3 separate regions of the Homo sapiens genome follow, and all the other regions are linked to region 2. Evidence: promoter capture Hi-C in human tissues and cell types (Jung and others, 2019). All regions are on one chromosome and are shown on one strand. The core of a region is centred on a gene start or on the middle of the fragment in contact, and the rest is flanking DNA. Distances in the headings are between cores, read along the strand shown. Region 1 overlaps EIF4G3 (eukaryotic translation initiation factor 4 gamma 3). Region 2 holds the start of RNF186 (ring finger protein 186). Region 3 overlaps USP48 (ubiquitin specific peptidase 48).

Evidence for each region. The method cuts DNA at HindIII sites, captures the fragments that hold promoters and counts their contacts. A contact is called where the count stands out against the background at its distance.
Region 1: a contact is called between a fragment that was not itself captured here and the fragment with the promoter of RNF186 in region 2, in 1 of the 25 tissues and cell types used here (psoas muscle).
Region 3: a fragment that was not itself captured here is called in contact with the fragment with the promoter of RNF186 in region 2 in 1 of the 25 tissues and cell types used here (aorta).

What each region holds. Positions count from the first base shown.
Region 1 is chr1:21,049,112-21,052,419 of GRCh38, reverse strand. It overlaps EIF4G3 (eukaryotic translation initiation factor 4 gamma 3), which reads left to right. Exons shown (of 37, transcript NM_001391906.1): 4 at 1,426-1,554. Among named protein-coding and RNA genes, the nearest start is that of MIR1256, 62 kb to the right of the region's middle. The HindIII fragment of the contact is 4,079 bases long and covers 1-3,308 here.
Region 2 is chr1:19,814,033-19,817,454 of GRCh38, reverse strand. RNF186 (ring finger protein 186) reads left to right here and starts at 2,172. Exons shown (of 1, transcript NM_019062.2): 1 at 2,172-3,422. The coding sequence starts at 2,354. The coding sequence ends at 3,037. It overlaps RNF186-AS1 (RNF186 antisense RNA 1), which reads right to left and starts at 3,046. Exons shown (of 2, transcript NR_186008.1): 1 at 2,902-3,046. RefSeq lists an enhancer at 180-711. The HindIII fragment of the contact is 3,016 bases long and covers 1-2,969 here.
Region 3 is chr1:21,708,963-21,712,721 of GRCh38, reverse strand. The region is part of intron 15 of USP48 (ubiquitin specific peptidase 48); the gene reads left to right. Among named protein-coding and RNA genes, the nearest start is that of RAP1GAP, 41 kb to the right of the region's middle. The HindIII fragment of the contact is 4,321 bases long and covers 143-3,759 here.

The sequences.
Region 1 (3,308 bases), core at 669-3,168, 1.2 Mb before region 2:
AGATTGGCAAAGGGTTTGTGTTCCTCTCAAATTTAAGAACTATTCCTTAAGGAGAATGACTTCTTTCATTTTAGCAGAGGACAGAACTGCCCATAATTCATGAAAGTTTGCAAAACCATCAGTGTTAAGTCTGCATTAGTGTATGAGAGGGAAGAGCTGGCTAGGATTGATTGGTAGACACTTCCACTAGGGGTCTGAGTAAAGTGGTTTCATATCCGTAATGGGCTGATGAGCAATTTATTGCCTGCAAAAAACGGAGAAAATGAAATTTTTGGTTACGTAAAAACATGCTGATTATTTTTCAGTTGTATAAATTTGTGATTATTGTATTATATTAGAAAATATAAATGAGAAAATAAATACCTGTAATGCTTTCTGTTAAGATTTTGGTATATCTCTTTACAGATCTTTAAAAATATTACATATACATGTTTTTAGATGTATGTGTGTGTATTATATGCATACGTAAACAAATAATGTATATAGAAATATTCCTACACATGTGTATGTATATGTATATTTAGATGTCCTTTTTAAAAATTTTTTTGTATTTAAAGAGATAGGGTTTTCCTCTGTCACTCAGGTTGTAGTACAGTGGTGTGATCATAGCTCACTGTAAGCCTTGAACTCCTGGGCCCAAGCAGTCCTTTTGCCTCAGCTTCCCAAGTAACTATTTCTACAGGTGGATGCCACCATGCCTAGCTAATGAAAAAAAAATTTTTTTTTATAAAATACAGTTGAAGTCTTGCTATGTTGCACAGGCTGGTCTGAAACTTCTGTTCTTAAGCAGTCTTCCTGTGTTGGCCTCCCAAAGTGCTGGGATTACAGGCATAAGCCACAGCATCTGGCCAGATATATGTTTTTAAAGACAAAAATGAGATTATGTCGTATAAGTAACTTGCCATTTTTGGAGTTTAGATTTATTGAGATGTAATTTAGTAAAATTCACCCTTTTTAGTGTATACGTCCATAAGTCTTGACAAGCAGAGACATTCAATTCTCACTATAAGCATGATACAGAACAGTTCTGTCACCCTCAAAAATCTCCTTGTTCCTCTTCTGTAGTCATCTCCTTCCTCTTTCAACCATTTATTTCTTTTCTGTTCCTTTTACAAAATGGTATCATACAGTTTGTAGTTTGAAGTATTGTTTCTTTCCTGTAGCATGTGTTTTCCTTTATGATTTTTGGTTTTGAGATCATGCTTCAAGAATCTTTTATCAAATTGATGAGAATATTCATGTATATATTTTTAAAGAATTCTGTTTTTTTCAATTTTAAAAATTTTAAGTGTTTGTTCAGTCTCGTGCTTATTTTAGTGTAAGTTGTGAGGTAGGAAATCCAATTAAAAATCAGATAGTTCAGCTGTATTTATTAAGATTGATTTACTAATATAATGTTCTTACTAAATATTGATTTCCTCACAGGTAACACAAGTGGCAAGACAGCCGGGAACCCCTACCCCATCCCCTTATTCAGCACATGAAATAAACAAGGGGCATCCAAATCTTGCGGCAACGCCCCCGGGACATGCATCGTCCCCTGGACTCTCTCAAGTAAGATAAACCTTTTTTAAAAAAATAAGAAATGTCCCTGTAAAGGCATCATTTTTGTTTTTCTAAAGAGACTCCTAAGCAGTAACATAAAACATTACTTGTATAGTAATTTCAAGTTTGTCTTTGGCATCTTTTCAGACTTAACCGTTCATAAAGATGGCTACTAACAAATTTCACACATTTCATTTTGAAGTCATTAAAAATTAACTGTTGGTGATATTTAGTTTTCATTTTCATTGTTTAAGAAGTTAGAGTTTTATTCTAAAGTTTACTGGAAAACCCCCCCACAAAGCACTGATTTGCTTTTCGATGCTTAATCTGCTACCGTCTCGCACCCCTTTCGGGTGAAGCATTAATGGTTATTTTCTACTTATGTGAAAACTTGGTGTCTTCCCCTCTTGAGTAGCATCAGTGGGATTTTTTGTTTGTTGGTTTGGTTGTTTTGTAAGTCGATTATTGTAATTTGATAGGCTTAAGTTTTTGTTGAACTGTTAGAAGAATTGTGAACTCCTTAGTGTATTTCTACTTAATAGTAACAACAGACGTTCAGACACTGTTTAAGGAGGATGTTCCTATGTGTTCCTTGCACTTAAGCTGTTTGCCAAGATATATTGTTTAGCTTGCACCGACCTACTGTTGCAAGCTTGTTTGGATTTCCTTGTGGTTAAAAGTTGGCTAGAGTTATAAAGTCCCTTACAGAATGTGGACTGAGTCAAGCCAATAACGTTGATCTAACTGTGTGAGATTATCAGTATTTACATGTAACAGCTACTCTTTTGATAATGAAAATCATTTTTATAACATTATTTGTGATTTTAGCCTCCATATTTTAGGCCTTTTAGAGATTGAATAATAGGAGAGATCAGGAATTACTAAAAATAATGCTAAAGGTGGTGATTATAAGTTAAGGGCTGATTTTATTTTTTATTCTTCATTATTTTTTAGGGACAATTTTTATTCCTTATTATTTTTTTAAAGACAGGGTCTTGCTCCGTGGCCAAGGCTGGGGTACAGTGGCATGATCATAGCTCACTGTAACCTCTAACTCCTGGGCTCAAGTGATCTTCTTGCCTCAGCTTCCCAGTTAGCTGAGACCACAGGCTCATGCCACCATGCCCGGCTAATTTTTTTCTTTTGGTTAAATTTTTTGTAGAGATGGGGTCTTGCTATGTTGCTCAGATTGGCCTTGATCTCCTGGCCATGTGCTGATTAATTATATTTTAGACTATAGAATGTTTGGAAAAGGAATGTACAGTTTGCCAAACCATGACTGAAATAGCCCTATTAATGAATATAAGTTTGTCAAGAACTTAGTGCTATACCTAAACTTAGTCTAAATCATTCCTATATAATTTGGAGTTTTAAACATTGAAAACAAAACAAAATGAGCTCCTGATTGTTTAAATGAGGTTCCTGTGTTGGGTTTCTTAGACTGAACACAACCTCTCAACTTACTATTAAGGTGTATTAATCTGAGTCTAATCAGGAGAGAAAAACTATGCACTCTCAAGAATATAAGATATAAAGAGCAAACGCTTACCTTAGGGCTGAGTAGAGGCTCAGATAGGGAGCCTTTCTCTGTAGGGTTGAGCCAAAGGCTGTGGTAGAAGAGCCACTGTGGTGCTGTTCAGAACTTGCTGAAACTCTTTGTTCTGGAACTTGCTGGAAATGTGCCCTATGAAGTATTGGGGAAAGCTTTCTTCTCCAGCACCAATCTCTTATAGCCAAGAGCTGATGCAGGGCACAATGGCTAA
Region 2 (3,422 bases), core at 923-3,422:
GATTATATGCCTACGCTCAAACCAATGGCTGCAGCTAGCAGAGCAGAGCATGCTAACTGGCCTGTCCTGAATTGTATCAGGGCCCCACTTCCAGAGAGCTGGAGCCAGACATCACCCTCTCCGTGAGCACAGAATGACGGTGGGAAGCAGTGGTTGCCCAAAGTGAAAACAGAGAACTGTTACCCAAAAAAGGGGAAAGAATGCTAGGCATGGGGGAAAAAACATGCCTAGATCCAAGGCCACCTTCAGCTTGATCTGGGGGAAAACGTGATATAGATGTGTATCTATACCTTAGTATCTGAGACAGGTCTCAGTTAATTTAGAAAGTTTATTTTGCCAAGGTTGAGGACACATGTCCGTGACACAGCCTCAGGAGGTCCTGATGACATGTGCCCAAGGTGGACAGAGCACAGCTTGGTTTTATACGTTTTAGAGGGACATGAGACATCAATCAACATATGTAAAATGAACATTGGTTCCATCTGAAAAGGTGGAGCAACTTGAAGCAAAGGCAGGAAGACCTGAAGTGGGGAAGGGGCTTCCAGGTCACAGGTGGATAAGAATGGTTACATTCTTTTGAGTTTCTGATTAGCATCTCCAAAGGAGGCAATCAGATATGCATTTGTCTCAGTGAGCAGAGAGGTGACTTTGAATAGAATGGGAGGCAGGCTGGCCCTAAGCAGTTTCCAGCTTGACTTTCCCTTGTGGCTTAGTGATTTTGGGGCCCCACGATTTATTTTCCTTTCACAGAGGTAACTGATGGTCTAGCTACAGGTTGAGAAGAAATGGGATGGGATGGTGAGAGTATTGGATTTCAGAGATAGAGGGCCCAGGGGGAGTGGGGAGGTGGGAGTTACCGATCCCACAAGGGAGGGAGCCCCTTTGGGGCTGGTGACTCCAGGACACAGAGGGTGGCCTGCAGTGCCAGCTACTGGGGTAAGGGAAAGAGCTGAATCAGAGGCACAGGACTCTGTGTGGCCCTTGGCAGGTGACATGAGCACCAAAGGATCCTTCACACGGGCTTCTGAGTTCAGAGTGGCCTGAATGAAACATTTGTTTGAGGGAGTGCACATGCCACCCCGCCATTTGCCCTTGAGGGCAAAGTAAGGAAATCACGTTTTCCTAACTGCTGTGTTACTAATATCTGCCTGTCTCACATGAGTCCTCTTAGCCTACGCCACCCGGCTGGGGCCAGTTGTGTCCAAATGAACCAATGAAATTGATTCAACCAGACCTTGGACGCTGGTAGATTCCACAAGGTCCTGCTCCATGGAAGGCCCCTTGGCAGGCAGCCAGCAGCCTACCCTGACCACACCCTGCCCTTGTTTCCCAGCCTTCCCTACAAGGCTGTATCAGGGTTCCGGGAAATGGGGGCTGGGGACCCCGGGCACAGGGCTTGGCTTAGAGTAGGCCCAAATAAATGGCAGCTGTTCTTAGTACTACTGGATACGCAGCATGCCTAGCACAAAACAGGACACCTGTGATTAGGCATGTGAAGTGTGCAGCAGGGCACCGATGGGAAGTTCATACACCCGTAACTGTGAATACAACAGCTGTGGCTCTAAGGAAATGAATACAGTAGCAGGTGCCAAACACCTGTGCGCTGTATGTGGTTTTGTTTTTCTGCGTTGGGTTGGGCTTTGTCCTCCTTCCACTCACTTTTCTTACCTCTCCCCTCCTCTTTCCAAGGCCACCTGCCTGTAAATGTGCTCCAAGTGCAAACAAACTTTTTTCCACTCATCCTGACATCCAAAAGTTTGTGTCTGAGAAAGCAGTGTCCACCAATCCACCTATGTCCGACTCATAGGGCTGTCTGTTTATTGTGCAGATTTGTAGATGCCAGTGAGCCAAGATCGGGCCACTGCACTCCAACCTGAGAGAACGAGACTCCGTCTCAAAAAAAAAAAAAAAAGTTAAATAAAAAAAATTAATAAAAGGTTCAGGGACCTGGGAAGTGGGGGTGAGAGAGTTGGATTCTGCTGCCTCCTAAAGCTTGAGCCACAGTTCTGTGGGCACCCACCAGGTACCTGGCCCCAACAGGAAAGTCCTGATTCACTAGACCCTTGCCCACTTTGCCCTCCTATCAGGCAATTCAAAGTCTCCAGACCCGCAAGTTACTGATTAACCCTAGGTTTTGAGAAAATAAATAATAATAACTGAAGGGACGACGTAAGCCAAGAAACAAGCTGGGCAGCTCTGGGAGAGAGGAGTGTCAGACAGCTGTTGTCAACAGGCACCTGGCCAGAGTGAAAAGGAGGGGCAGATTCCATCCAAGTCCCAGCGGCGCCAGCTGACACTCTCTGCCAATGCCCAGGTGCTGAGCGACAGTGTCCCACCGGTCCCTGTGCCCAGAATGGCCTGCACCAAGACCCTGCAACAGTCCCAGCCCATCTCCGCAGGAGCCACCACAACCACCACCGCTGTGGCCCCTGCTGGGGGTCATTCTGGCTCCACAGAATGTGACCTGGAGTGTCTGGTGTGCCGGGAGCCCTACAGCTGTCCCCGGTTGCCCAAGCTGCTGGCCTGCCAGCATGCCTTCTGCGCCATCTGCCTGAAGCTCCTGCTGTGCGTGCAGGACAACACCTGGTCCATCACCTGCCCGCTGTGCCGCAAGGTCACCGCCGTCCCCGGGGGCCTCATCTGCAGCCTGCGCGACCATGAGGCGGTGGTGGGGCAGCTGGCCCAGCCATGCACAGAGGTATCGCTCTGTCCTCAGGGGCTGGTGGATCCTGCTGACTTGGCAGCAGGACACCCCAGCTTGGTGGGAGAGGATGGACAGGATGAAGTAAGTGCAAACCACGTGGCAGCCCGGCGCCTGGCCGCGCACCTACTCCTGCTGGCCTTGCTCATTATCCTCATCGGGCCCTTCATCTACCCGGGTGTCTTACGATGGGTGCTCACCTTCATCATCGCCCTGGCCCTGCTGATGTCCACCCTCTTCTGCTGTCTCCCCAGCACCCGGGGCAGCTGCTGGCCCTCCTCCAGGACTCTCTTCTGCAGAGAGCAGAAACACAGCCACATCTCTTCCATTGCCTGAGTGCCCTCTGATGAGGCTATCCCTGCAGCCCTTTCTGCCCTTGGGCCCCCGGACTTCCACAATGAACAGGGTAAGGGGTTACGGACTAAGACTGGCTCCTTTGGGAAATCACATGCCAGCGGGACTTGCAAGCCACAACCGAGATGGCCAGCCTGGGTCAAGAATTACACGCTTGGATGACAGGCTTGCACTTGCCCTTGGGATAGCATAGCTAAAACTGTTGGTGGCTAGGGGAGCAGACACAAACTACTTGAACATGACAAGATGGGGGAAGCTCCTGTTCCTCTTATTCCAATGTTCTTGGTTTTTCTTTATATAACTTGATGAAAGTATTGCAGTATTGATGCCATTGTAGAATAGAACTGGAATTCCATTCTTTTTGCAA
Region 3 (3,759 bases), core at 1,054-3,553, 1.9 Mb before region 2:
AGGAGGCGGAGGTTGCAGTGAGCCAAGATGGCACCCCTGCATTCTAGCCTAGGCAACAGAGCAAGACCCTGTCTCAAAAAAAAAAAAAAAAAAGGATAGTTTTCTACCTTTGTTTTTGTGTTACGTTATCTGCCAGCATACCATGCGTCCAGGGTAAAATGTTTCTGGTATAGGATACCCAGCCTTACTTAGAAATCCACTTTACTCATTAAGTTTCTGTTAAAACCACTTTCTGGAGGTGTGCTGATGATGTTGGTAAGAGGAGGATTATAGTGGGCAATTATTGAATGTTTACCATTTGCCTGTAGTTTTCCACATTTATAAATATTAACTCATTTTATCTATTTTGTTTTGGTTTTTTTTGAGATGGCGTCTCACTGTGTCGCCCAGGCTGGAGCGCAATGGTGCAGTCTCGGCTCACTACAACCTCCACCTTCTGGGTTTAAGTGATTCTCCTGCCTCAGCTTCCCAAGTATCTGGAACTATAGGCATGTGCCACCACTCCCAGTTAATTTTTGTATTTTTAGTAGATATGGGGTTTTGCCATGTTGGCCAGACTGGTCTCGAACTCCTGACCTCAGTTGATCTGCCTGTCTTGGCCTCCCAAAGTGCTGGGATTACAGGCGTCAGCCATCATGCCCATCCAACTCATTTAATCTTATAACAACTCTGTGCTATCAGTATATTATCACATCCATTCTACTGATGAGTAAGTAAACTGAGGCACAGAGAGGCAAGAGTCACCTGTCTAGGATCACCATACTGAATGGATAATTTTGCCTAGGTATTTAGTTGTCTGTTGGAAATATTTTTTCCGTGAAAATTTAAGAGACTTTTGTGGTAGTGCTCTGGACGTACCATTCAGAAGTCCAAAGCCATTGTTTCTTGGTAATTTTTCTCCACTTCAGTTTCTGGTAGGCTTGTAAGATCTTTGTCCCCAATGTTGTACGGGTTCATTTATTATGCTAGGCACTCTGTGGAAGCCAGGTGTGTTTTGGAGGGGCTTGGTGACTGAGCTTCACTAGTTCGGAGCCCCAGCTGGCTTGTTTCACTGGGAAATTCCCAATGGCACTGTCTGCTATTGGGCCACTAAGGTTTTTCCGTAAGTATCTTTTATTTGCCTGCCTGGAAAATTCAGACCTGCTGTCGCTCTTCGGAAGCTGTAGAAAGAAGAGGACTTAGGAGTCCCTGCATTGAAGAGTGGAAAGGTTTAATTATCCCTGTCTCAGCTTGTCACTTCATTTGTCTCTGTGTTTTGTGTCCCCTGTTCAGGGGCCTTAGGTTTTGTTGTCCTAGAATAAGCATCTAGTCTTTTGTGGCTAGAGGGGGCAGTGATCTCAAGGGCAGAGAAGGGGACTGAGCATCTAACTACATACTTCTTAAATAGACTTTCCATCCCTTCTCTCATTTTTTGTAAATCCCTACCTTTACTTCATGAGGACCCAGTTTTTGGGTCTGTGGGACAGTACTGCAGTGTAGCAAATCTGGCTACTTCTTGACTTTCGCCAACTTAGAGTTAATTTTTATTGTGTCTCATTAACCTTCTTTTAAACCCTTATAATTTTTATCCCTGTTGTTGCCTCTGTTGTCTTCATCATTATAACTGTATGTCTTTTATATATATATATAAATAATTCCTTTGGTGTGGTGGTTCACATCTATAACCTCAGCACTTCAAGAGGCTGAGGCATTTGAGAGCAGCCTGGGCAACATAGTGAGACCCCACCTCTATTTAAAAAATAAAATAAAAATTAGGCAAAGTGGCACACGGCTGTAGTCCTAGATGCCCAGGAAACTGAGGCAGGAGCATTGCTTGAGCCCAGGAGATTGTGGTTACAGTGAGCTATGATCACGCCACTGCACTCCAGCCTGGGTGACAGAGTGAGATCCTGTCTCTAAAAATAAAAGTTTTTTTTTTTTTAATTCTTTATTGTGATTTGATGATGTTTCATGAGGCACTTAAAGTAAATGCAGTTTTAAACATCATTTTAACCTGGAAAGTCCTTGATTTAAATTTTCATATTTTTATAACAAAACCCCTATATATTTCTAACGTGTTGTATGTATTTAATGTATCACAGGTTTTGTGTGAATTAGTCATTGGATTATATTCCATTGGAAGATTTACTATCCTAGAGTTCAGTATTTGTTGCAGATATTATATAACAAGCTTTATAATACAGATATTATATATATCAAGCTTTCTTACCCATTTTACTTTTTATTCCTTTAAGTGAATAACCTTCCTATAGCTTACCTTGTTTATTACACCTAGTTTGCTTAGACGATGGGCTGTGTTTTGTTTTGTTATTTTGAAAGTACTTCTTGAGATGTCCTGAGGCCCAAAGTATTATATACAGTTTGAACTAGATTGAGGGTGAGGGGTTGAGGGTCATTTATCCAGTATCTAAATTCATTGTTAACTAGATTTCTCTTTTTACCAAAGAATCTTTGAGTTTTAGATATTCTAGTTATGTTTACTGAATTGAATCTCTCTTGACTGCTTTGATCTTGTTTTGGGAGGTATTGCTCATAGAATGGATTTAGTTGATTGGCTTTCTCTTAAAATTTAAGAAATAACATGTTTCATTGCAGGATACAAGTTTAATTTCTAACAATTTATGTGTCCCAGTGAAAAGAGCAACCCAAATTTATTTAACTATTTTGAGGTCATAGACAATATTCAAGTATATTTACTTCATTATCATTCATTACATTAATTTAATTAATTGTATTAATATTCATAGTTAATATTAATGATATATTAACAACTACTATGGTAGTAATTATTAGAATAATAGGAAATTATATTTAGAAACTCAGCTAACAAGTAGAGTGAAGGACTATATATTTTTATTACCAACTAGACTACAGTAAAATGACTATTTAATATTATTCTGATCTCAGAAATGAATTTGGGTTGTTCTTTCCTTGTCATATGAAAAACACTCATCCCACTTAAAAGCCAGTCACTACCTAAAAGTACCCCCACATCAGAATGAAGCCGTGCACCCACAGTGTCTGTGGTCTCCTCTGCTCATTTAATAGTAAAGTTTGTGTGTGCATTCCCATTATTGTTTCCTCATAACCACATGGGGTTATACCACACACAAAGAAGCTCTCTTTTTTTTTTTTTAAAGCATAAAAAGGAAACCATTTAAATATTGTAGTTGCCGTGGAGTTCTTTCCAAATCAGGTCATGGAAATCTACCTTAATCTTTTTTATGGTTACGTTGTATTTCACATAAGGACTTACTAAGTTAAGGTTTGATAATCCAATTAACCTTTTTCTTTCATTTTTAAAAATAAATTCCCTAATTGTGTCTGAGGATGGGCACGTTAGAATAAGTTTTCATAGACTCACGGGAAATTTAAATTAACAGCCCACCCAGAAGGAAATACATGTTTACATTCTGACCCCATTTCTCTGGTAACAAGTCTGTTAAAGCAAAATAATCTTTTGGGGATTATTCAAAGATCCAGAAGAGGTGAGGGGTAGAAGTTAAGTTGCATTCTGAGGTATTATAAATTATAGGGACCAGGCATAGTGGCTCATGCTTATAATCCCAGCATTTCTGGAGGCTGAGGTAGGACGGTTGCTTAAAACCAGAAGTTCGAGAGACTCCCTCTCTACAAAATAAAATATTAGGCGGGCATGGTGGCTCATGCCTGTTAGCCAGACTACTCAGGAGGCTAAGGCAGGAGGATCGCTTGAGCCCAGGAGGTCGAGGCTGCAGTGAGCTATGATCGTGCCACTGT